2 separate regions of the Homo sapiens genome follow, and region 2 is linked to region 1. The links are contacts of gene promoters, found by promoter capture Hi-C in human tissues and cell types (Jung and others, 2019). All regions are on one chromosome and are shown on one strand. Each heading gives the region's core, a stretch centred on a gene start or on the middle of the fragment in contact. The rest is flanking DNA. Distances are from core to core; before and after follow the strand shown. Region 1 holds the start of CLDN20 (claudin 20). Region 2 overlaps TIAM2 (TIAM Rac1 associated GEF 2).

The links. The method cuts DNA at HindIII sites, captures the fragments that hold promoters and counts their contacts. A contact is called where the count stands out against the background at its distance.
Region 2: a fragment that was not itself captured here is called in contact with the fragment with the promoter of CLDN20 in region 1 in 1 of the 25 tissues and cell types used here (dorsolateral prefrontal cortex).

The regions. Positions count from the first base shown.
Region 1 is chr6:155,261,350-155,265,911 of GRCh38, reverse strand. It overlaps CLDN20 (claudin 20), which reads right to left and starts at 1,899. Exons shown (of 2, transcript NM_001001346.3): 1 at 1,624-1,899. The region is part of intron 5 of TFB1M (transcription factor B1, mitochondrial); the gene reads left to right. The HindIII fragment of the contact is 11,103 bases long and covers 1-4,562 here.
Region 2 is chr6:155,199,582-155,204,143 of GRCh38, reverse strand. The region is part of intron 14 of TIAM2 (TIAM Rac1 associated GEF 2); the gene reads right to left. Among named protein-coding and RNA genes, the nearest start is that of CLDN20, 62 kb to the left of the region's middle. The HindIII fragment of the contact is 4,056 bases long and covers 373-4,428 here.

The DNA of each region.
Region 1 (4,562 bases), core at 650-3,149:
ACTCCCAAGTTCTTCAGTTTTGGAACTTGGACTGGCTCTCCTTGCTTCTCAGCCTGCAGATGGCCTATTGTGGGACCTTGTGATCATGTGAGTTAATACTTAATAAACTCTTCTTTATATATATATTTAATATTTACATATTATATATTAAATATATATTATATATTATATATAATATATATTTATATTATATATAAATATATTTAATATTTATATTTAATAAACTCATATATATATATTCCATTAGTTCTGTCCCTCTAGAGAACCCTAATACAAATGTTTTTTCTTCTTTGCTTTCCATTCAATCTTGAAAATAATGACAGTTCAGAGTAAGATAAAATAGTTACCTGTTCCAGCCCTACAAATTTAAAGTGATTTGACCTAATCCTAAAATAATGTTCTTCTTCTGTCCCAGCCTTAGGAAATTAACAGTATCAGCTATGAATATACGAATGTACTGACCAAGCATCTTCAGTGTGATGTCTAGTCCGTTTGATAATTATGGTTTATTATGAATTACTATATTTGTATGCATGTTCTATTTCTCAGTCTTTTAATAATATTACTAGCAGCATTTATCAAGTGCCTTCTGAGTTTGTTTAGATTGAGAGCCTCTCTGAGGTCCTGTCTTCTCTCTGAGGGACGGGAGTTGCTCAGGACCTGCAGCGCTGGGGTCCAGACCCTGGCAGTTGCCAATGTGCTGCCACACCCATGGCCCGGCTGGGCAGCCTCGAAGCTGCCTCAGGCAGCTCCTGCCACATCCACAAACCCAAGCGGGAGCACAGCCCGGGACAGGAAACACAGGGCACGTCCAGATGCTGCTGCTTCACAGACACCAAGGGCGTGGTTTGTGGAAAAGGCCTAGTTTTAGGAAGGTCTTTTCCCTCTGATCATCCAGGAACTCCAGATTAAATGTAACAGAAAACCTTTATACAACAATTGTCAGTTCTTGTTCCATTTGTGCTTTCTTGAGGATTACACGTGCATCTCCCTGAAATTGTTTAATCTCTTGGGACCAAGAGACACTGACTCATCTTGTTGTTGTTATTACTAATAGGTGTAATTTACATACATACATATGTACATTTACATAATTTACACAGTAAAAAAACTCTTCATCCCCCTCACCACATTTCTTAGTCTTATTTCTCTTGTGATCTGAGTTTGCTGTCATTCTCTTGGCCTCAGTTCTTCCTACCACATCTGCTCTGAGAGGAAACACTATGTGACTGTTTAAAATCTGTTCTTTTTTTATGATCCCAAGAAGAAAGAGAAAAAAACAAAGATCTGTAGGAAGAAAAAAGGGTGAGGACAGAACTTCTGCAGAAATAAATATTGTTACAATAACACAAATTGTAAACTTTAGGATAGGTACTGACCGTGTAGTTGATCTTTATTGAACCAGTTGGTTTGAAATACTTAGAATGCTGTCAGCTTTAAGGTTTTACAGTGGAAATTCTTTCCTTAAATTGGCTTTTGGACATGGATCACAGGTAGAGTGAACCAATTCCAGAAAATGTGATCTACATTCACATTTGTCAGTATTTTCTTTTTCTATGACATGCATAATTATCATATCACAGGCATCAGTGACTTGCTGCCTCTACCTGGGATTCTCCTTACCTGGGAAAGTTGTAACCTCGAGGCCCGTGATGTCCTAAAGTGGACTGTCATTAGCTTGGTGGAGGTACTTGAAGAGCAAGCAGACACTGGAGGGTGGGGAAACCAAGCATCCGGAGGCACTCATCTTGCTCCGTTGTTTTACCCGACAGTGAAGTGGCTCTCCCAAGCCCCTGTCCTCCTGCGTTCCATTTTGTGGTGCCTATAGCCTGCAAGATGCCATATGCTTCCTGTTCCCAACCACCCAGGTCTGCCCGTGATCATCCCACTTCGAACTTTGAATCCTTCTTATATGTTGTTCTTTAAAGTCTTACTGATTATTCCCTGTGGTCTTTTTTTTTTTTTTCACTAGCCCTTCTGTTGTCTTAAGTTATGGCTGTGTCTTGGCTATTTACATAGTAACTTCCTCATCATTTTTTCATCTCCACTATCTTGTCCTCTAATGGTCTTGAACACCGTGAGAGTGTTGAATGAAGACCCTTTTGTAGACAGTGGCCAGCATTGTTTCTGTGTCTGTGCATGTGGTCGTGACTTAGCTTTTGGGCATATGATAATCATCAGGAACTGAGTTGTACGTCTCTTCAGTGTCCTCTGTATATCATGTTGATTACAGTTCTCAGTTGTAATATCTAATATCTAAGATTTAAGATTTAATATCTCCTTAGCCCGGGTCCCTTGTGAGTTCCAAGTGCTGCTCTGAGCTGATAACCAGTCACGTCCTAGACACCCTGGCCTGGAAACTAGGACATCTGCCTCGGGCCTGTTATGGCCAAGGCTGCTAACACTGAGAAACAGTCTTAGCTTGTTACAGCGTTGACGTATAGGGTTAGAAAGGCAAATATTTAAATTCATTTTAAATCCTTTCATTTGAAATTTTAGTAGGTCATTTTGGTATACTGATGGACTGAGTTTGGAAAAGGCTGGCGGCATTAAACTAGAATATTTTAAGTACTTCTGATGCCTTTGTACTGATTTCTTTTTTGTAATCAAACCCATTAATAGACTTAAAACTCAAGGAAGAAAAAATAATACTTGTAATTTTAAATAAGCATTCAATTATAAGTAAAAAACATTTTTGTATTCGTTACCATAGTTACCAAGCAGCTTTCCTATAGTTCTAGAAAAAAATGGGCTCCATCATTCAGAGTAATTCTGAAAGGTGCCTTTGGGGGAAAGGGAGAGGAAGGGGTGGTACAGGAGAGGTCCTGGCCGTCCCAGAAGCAGGAGACATAACTGGAAGAGCTTTGTTGACGCTGAGTTTTACAGAATCTCCCACTAAATAGTAACTGCATTTGTGAGGGGAATTCTCTTTTAGCCGTGACATAATATAAGCCAACTTAACAGAGTATTGGAATTGTATTCAAACTTTAGAAGTCGACGCTATAGTTTACATGGGGTACTACTATATTTGTTCAGGGTTTTAAAACTTTATTTAAATCAAGCAAAAGTTAGACACTTCCTGTATTTGCAAATACCAACTATATCTCAAAGGAATGAAATCAGGCAAATAAAGATGAGGCCAAAATTTAAAATCTAAGGAAGCTGAAAGTGGCAGTTTCTGTACTGGAAGAGAGTGCATCTATCTCTGTATTTGTGCTTTTGGTCTTAATAGTTTGTAAGCCTTATGTAGAGTTTTGATAATATTTCATGGTTTTAGGCCTAGGCAGGGATTAGATTTTATCTCAGATTTTGCTAAGAGTATTTCTTCTGGAGACTAGCAGGCTGCTAGTAAGAATTGATAGAATTGGCTCTTTGTCACTGGGAGAACTGGAGTTGAAGGGTTACAGGAGATGAGTCCTGGAGAACGGGAGGCAGGGACAAGGGTGCCAGGAAGCTCAGGGGATGAAAGGGAAATGGAGAGTCCAGTGAGAGAAGGCTGGCGAGGTGTAGAGAGTGGCCAGACACATGCCTGACAGTTGGGACCACTTCTCTATACAAATCAGGAGGAGGCGAGGTAGGCAGGATAGTTCAGAGTTTGTGGGAAGGAACCTGACATCTGAAGTCAGTGGAGTGTGTCTTGGGCTGCTGCCTGCACTCTGCCATTCATAGATCAGGTCTTCTTTTTCCTTCCCCAGAACTGCCCTGAGCTGAAACCACCTTTCTTCTCTCCCTATAGCAGTACATCTACCCCACCTACACCCTGCATCCACTCCACAGCCCCTTGTCTTCTTCAGTCCCTCTTTCCCTGATGACCACAGACCTCTCCAAGCTGGGCACTGTTCTATGGTGCGTTTTGTTAAAGTCTAAGGGAAGTCCTGTAGGAAGAGGTAGTTGTTACTAAACTTGAGGAAACATGAAACAACATATAGCACACAATTCAAAAAACTTACTAAAATTTATTAAGAGCATTTGACATCTTAGTTAAGTCACTGTTCATAACTACTGTTCCACCATAGAATCTTCACAAGAACAGCCTGCTGGACTTCACAAGAAGGCTGATGGATGTTGGGGGTGGGCATTTGGGGTGTGGAAAGGCCGCTTGGCACATTCTCAGCATGCGCCAGCCCACACCGCCCCTTACCACCAAAGCCTTCTATTTCCCATTCCATCCAGTAGGAGCAGCTGTAGCTGACCTGAAACCTTCGGGGACAGGCTCATTGATTGTTTAAATAGGGAGGTGCAAGCTCTCAGGGGTCCGGGGCCTTGATGACACAGCTCAGGCACCACAGGCACCTCCCACAAGCGCGTCAGGCTGTGTGAGGCTGAGCACAGCTTATTTTCACTTTCTTGTCCATAAAGTCTCACATCATATTCAGTTGTTTTCCTTCTACCCTAAAAGAAACACAACCAGAAAAGCCAGTCTCCCATTTTCATCTGTTTAAGGAATTATGTAGCCACAAGGATCTTTAGAAGCAAGTCCTCTTAGGAGAAAATGACAACCTCTATGGGATTTCAACAATGGAGTTCCTTTTGAAAAGCAGTGGTGCAGCCCACACCTCCTA
Region 2 (4,562 bases), core at 1,151-3,650, 62 kb after region 1:
TATGCATGTTTTTTAACCTCCATTAAGGTCCAGTCGAACAATGTGCAATGTATGGGATTAACGTGATCACTGCCGGATGTCCAGCAACCATGTCCCAACTACCAAACGTCACCATCCCTGGAATCATTATGATGACCAAAAACAGAAACACAAACTTCCAAAATGTCACCTGGTGGTCAGCGCCACCACCTCTGAGAATTGCCTCTGCCCCTCCCCGTGGCCAGGACCTCAACTTTACCTCTAAGAGAATCAAGTGGCATCAGAGGATGCAAAATGCATCCAACCCATAGCATTTTGCACCCTCTGAGTATTAGTTTCCCTCACTTCCCAAAGAAAGATAAAATATACTCACTAAAGCAATTAAAAATATAGCAGCCAAATAACAATGAAGTGTATTTCAGTGGGACTCTCATCTCAGGCTCAAAAAATGTTTTTAGTTGATTAAATCATTAATCCTTAGAAACCCCTTCTGATGTGAAAACTACAGAAGAATAATTTTCTAAGACTGAAAAAAATCTAAAAAATAATGTCAAAGTAGTTACAAGTGAATAATAAATGGTTTAATTAAGTTTTCAACTACATAATCCACTTTGGCATTAGAGTTACACGTCTCTGACATTTAATACTTACATTCTACTATCTACTGACATCCAGAAAAAATAACGTACTTTATTTGAATTATGCTATTAATCTATTTGATTTACTCAGTTTCCCTATTCAGTTTCTCAGAATTTATGCTATGCAATTCCATAAATGAAAAACTCGTAGAGAATCAAAGAATTTTAGATCAGAAAAGAAACTCAGAAATCACCCTATTCAATTCCTTCATTTTATGTATCTTTTGTTTTTTAAAAAAAGTACAAATGTAATTTTAAGAAAAGATTAAAATTTGGGTAAATCAAAGCTGCCAGCCTAGGCATAATAGCATTATGTAAATAGAAAATTAAGACTTTTTTTCAATTCTTCAAGCTTCACCCACTATTACAAAACTCTGCATTAATGCTCACAGCCAGTTCTCACAGTACAAACAGCACATTGAACATTTGCAAAGAAAATCTTTGCAAATCTTTCTCTTTTTTTTTTTTTTTTTTTTTTGAGACAGAGTTTTGCTCTGTCACCCAGGCTGGAGTGCAGTGGCGTGAACTCAGCTCACTGCGACCTCCGCCTCCCAGGTGTAATTCTCGTGCCTCAGCCTCCTGAGTAGCTGGAACTATGGGTGCATGCCACCACATCCGGCTAATTTTTTTTTTTTTTTTTTTTGTATTTTTAGTAGAGATGGGGTTTTGCCATGTTGGCCAGGATGGTCTCAAACTCCTAACCTCGAGTGATCCACCCACCTCAGCCTCCCAAAGTGCTGGGATTACAGGCGTGAGCTATGGCACCCAGCCAGAATCTCTCCTTTTAAATTTAACTTTGTGGCCAGTGAGGTGATTCATGCCTATAATCCGAGAACTTTGGGAGGCCAAGGCAGGAGGATTGCTTGCGGTCAGGAGTTCACAAGACCAGCCTGGGCAACATGGAAAGACTCCATCTCTATTAAAAAAAAAAAAAAAAAAAGTTATCCAGGTATGGTGGTGCACACCTGTAGTCCCAGCCACTCAGGAGGCTGAGGCAGGAGGATCACTTGAGCCCAGGAGGTAGAGGCTGCAGTGGCTTGTGATTGTGCCATTGCACTCCAGCCTAGGCGACAGAGTGAGACCTTGCTTTTAAAACAATTTCTTCTAAATAAATTTAAATTTGTAAACTTTGTATAGCAATGCATATTTTTAAGTAACACAGATTGTCCAAAATTTTACTCATACTTTTACTTTAAAATGCAGTGGTTTGTGCCACCTTTCACTAATGACATTAGCTGTACTGTGCCATCCAGGCAAATATTTCTGATCATCAGTCAGTGAAAGAGAATGAAAACAAAGCATTTAAATGAAATAATAGAAATAACTGAGAGGGAAAAAAAAAGTAACTCTTGAGTTGACCACATTCAAAGGTGAGTCAAGTCCCAAACTGCACCATTAACAAAGAGATCACCATTTATTATTACCTACTCTTAATATAGATAAAAATCAGTCTTCTCTTCTGACCATATCTGGGACTTTGCATTTTTTTTTATTGTTATGACTCATGTCAGGGAAATTCAAAGCAGCAGTCTGAATGTTATTGTTAAGCTTGCAAAGAAATAAATTCTATTATAGCACAAATACTGTGCTAGAAAGATTCATAAATCTTCCAAGTCCATTTAACCTGAGGTCACATTCCAATTGGTGATGTTTTTGACAATGCAAGCTAACACCGGCAATAAACAGAGAGCAGTAAAGTAAATGCTGGTAGTAAATGTTTCTTAATAGCAGGCTGCCAGGATCTGTTTCAATTGTCTTGTGATAAATGTCCTTAGAGTGGGAAAAAATACATAAAGGAACATGGCAGATGTTCTCACAGTAGAAAGGTGCTGCCAGCCACCTCCACACTGACTGCAATACTCCTTCTTAGAACAACGAAAAAGAGCGTTTAGATGTACCCATATCTTCCTTCGCCAGGCAGGCTATGGCAGTGACTGAGGCAGCGTGCTTAACCCAAAGAAAGAAGGTGCAGAGCCTCCCATGGGGTTTTATGAGCCCCAGTGAAAAATACACAGTCAATGACGAGAGAGATCTTCAGCCAAGGTCTTGGCACTGCAAGGAAACGGACACCCACTAGTACTGGGAGGACACCCCAATGCCACACTTACTTACCTTCAGGCATGTAACAGACAATACCGTACTTCAAACACTCCAAGAATTTTAATAAAGTTGAATTTAAGTTCAAAGCCCTTAGGAACTACTTAGCTGGAGTTCTATTTAAAGACTTTGAGAAGAAACCTAGACAAAAGTACACATGAGATTCTATTAGAGAAAGTTTCTACGGAAAAAAGAAAATTTGAGGACACTTTTCAGTAAGTGCTACGGTTCTCTTGGATTAAAAGAAGGCGAAATTGAATATTATTCAGCCATAAAAAGGAATGAAGAATTGATTCATACTACAACATGGATGAACCTTGAAAACATTATGCTAAGTGAAAGGAGCCAGACATGACAGGTTACACATTGTATTTTCATTTTTATATGAAATGCCCAGAATAGGCAAATCCATAGAAACAGAAAGTAGATTCATAGTTGCCAGGAGCGGGGGTTGGAGCGTGGAGGATAAGGAGTGACTTCTTTTTTTATTTTTATTTATTTATTGTTTATTTATTTTATTTTATTTTTGAGACAGAGTCTCGCTCTGTCACCAGGCTGGTGTGCAGTGGCACGATCTTGGCTCAATGCAACCTCTGCCTCCTGGGTTCAAGTGATTCTCCTGCCTCAGCCTCCCAAGTAGCTGAGACAACAGGTGTGCGCCACCATGCCCAGCTAATTTTTATATTTTTAGTAGAGACAGGGTTTCACCACATTGGCCAGGATGGTCTCGATCTCTTGACCTTGTGATCCGCCCACCTCAGCCTCCCAAAGTGCTGGGATTACAGGCGTGAGGGACTGACCCTGGCCTTGAAGAGTGACTTCTGATGGGTGTCAGGTTTCTTTTTTGAGGGAATAAAAATATTGTGGAATTAGACGGTAGTGATGGTTGCACAATTTTGTGAATATACTAAAAACCACTGAATGGTACACTGTAAAAGGTAAATTGTATAGTATGTTAATTCTATTCAATTTTTTAAAAAGAAGATAAGGAAGTCAGGGTAGATATTACAGGAGAGAAATTAGAATTAACAGCAAAACTCCACCATAAGAGGGTTCCAAAGAAACAAATCACAGGAAATATATGGCCACATGATTGCAAGGTTAATGAAAATCTGTATGAACCATCAAAAAAGGAACAAGAATAGATAGCGAAGCTATGACTGTAAATAACTGACCTTTCCCTGAACTGAGAAAGCCCCAGATGATCACAAGACCTTTCTGATCATCAGTCCCAACCCTCAGATAAGAATCCAGATGAGAAGACAAGGACTATCAGCAATCCGATCACATCTAAATTTGCTTTACTGCAAGGCAAATTATAACTGGGTTTTACTCTATGTATATTAATAGATAAATCTTTAAAAGGAAAAAAAAGCAGTTAAAATCCAGACATTTTTCCCTACATGGAAGGAAAAACAGGAAGACACAGTTCTATCTGTGTGTGCCACTGACTATGACCTTGTCCAAGCTACCAGAGGCTTGATGTGTCTCTATACCTTGATTTACCCAGCTGTGAAAGTAAAATGATAATAACACATCTCTGCTCCATCAGGGTGATGTGAGGGATAATTCATGTTTTTAAGGTTCTTTGTGAACTTTATATTGAGACAGCCTGCTATTATTAGGAAGCCTTAACAAACACGTTCTCTACCGCAGTCAAGACCTGACTCTATTTAAGGAGGGAATGGGACTGGCTGCAAAACCAAAATGGAATGTTTGATCCATTACTTTGCTTTTTTCGCTTCATAAAATTTTGGAGGAAATGTACACTCCTGTAGTTCTTATATTGTCACTTCAATCACGTTAAATACAAGAATTTCAGAGAGAGAAGGAAAAAATTTTAAACTA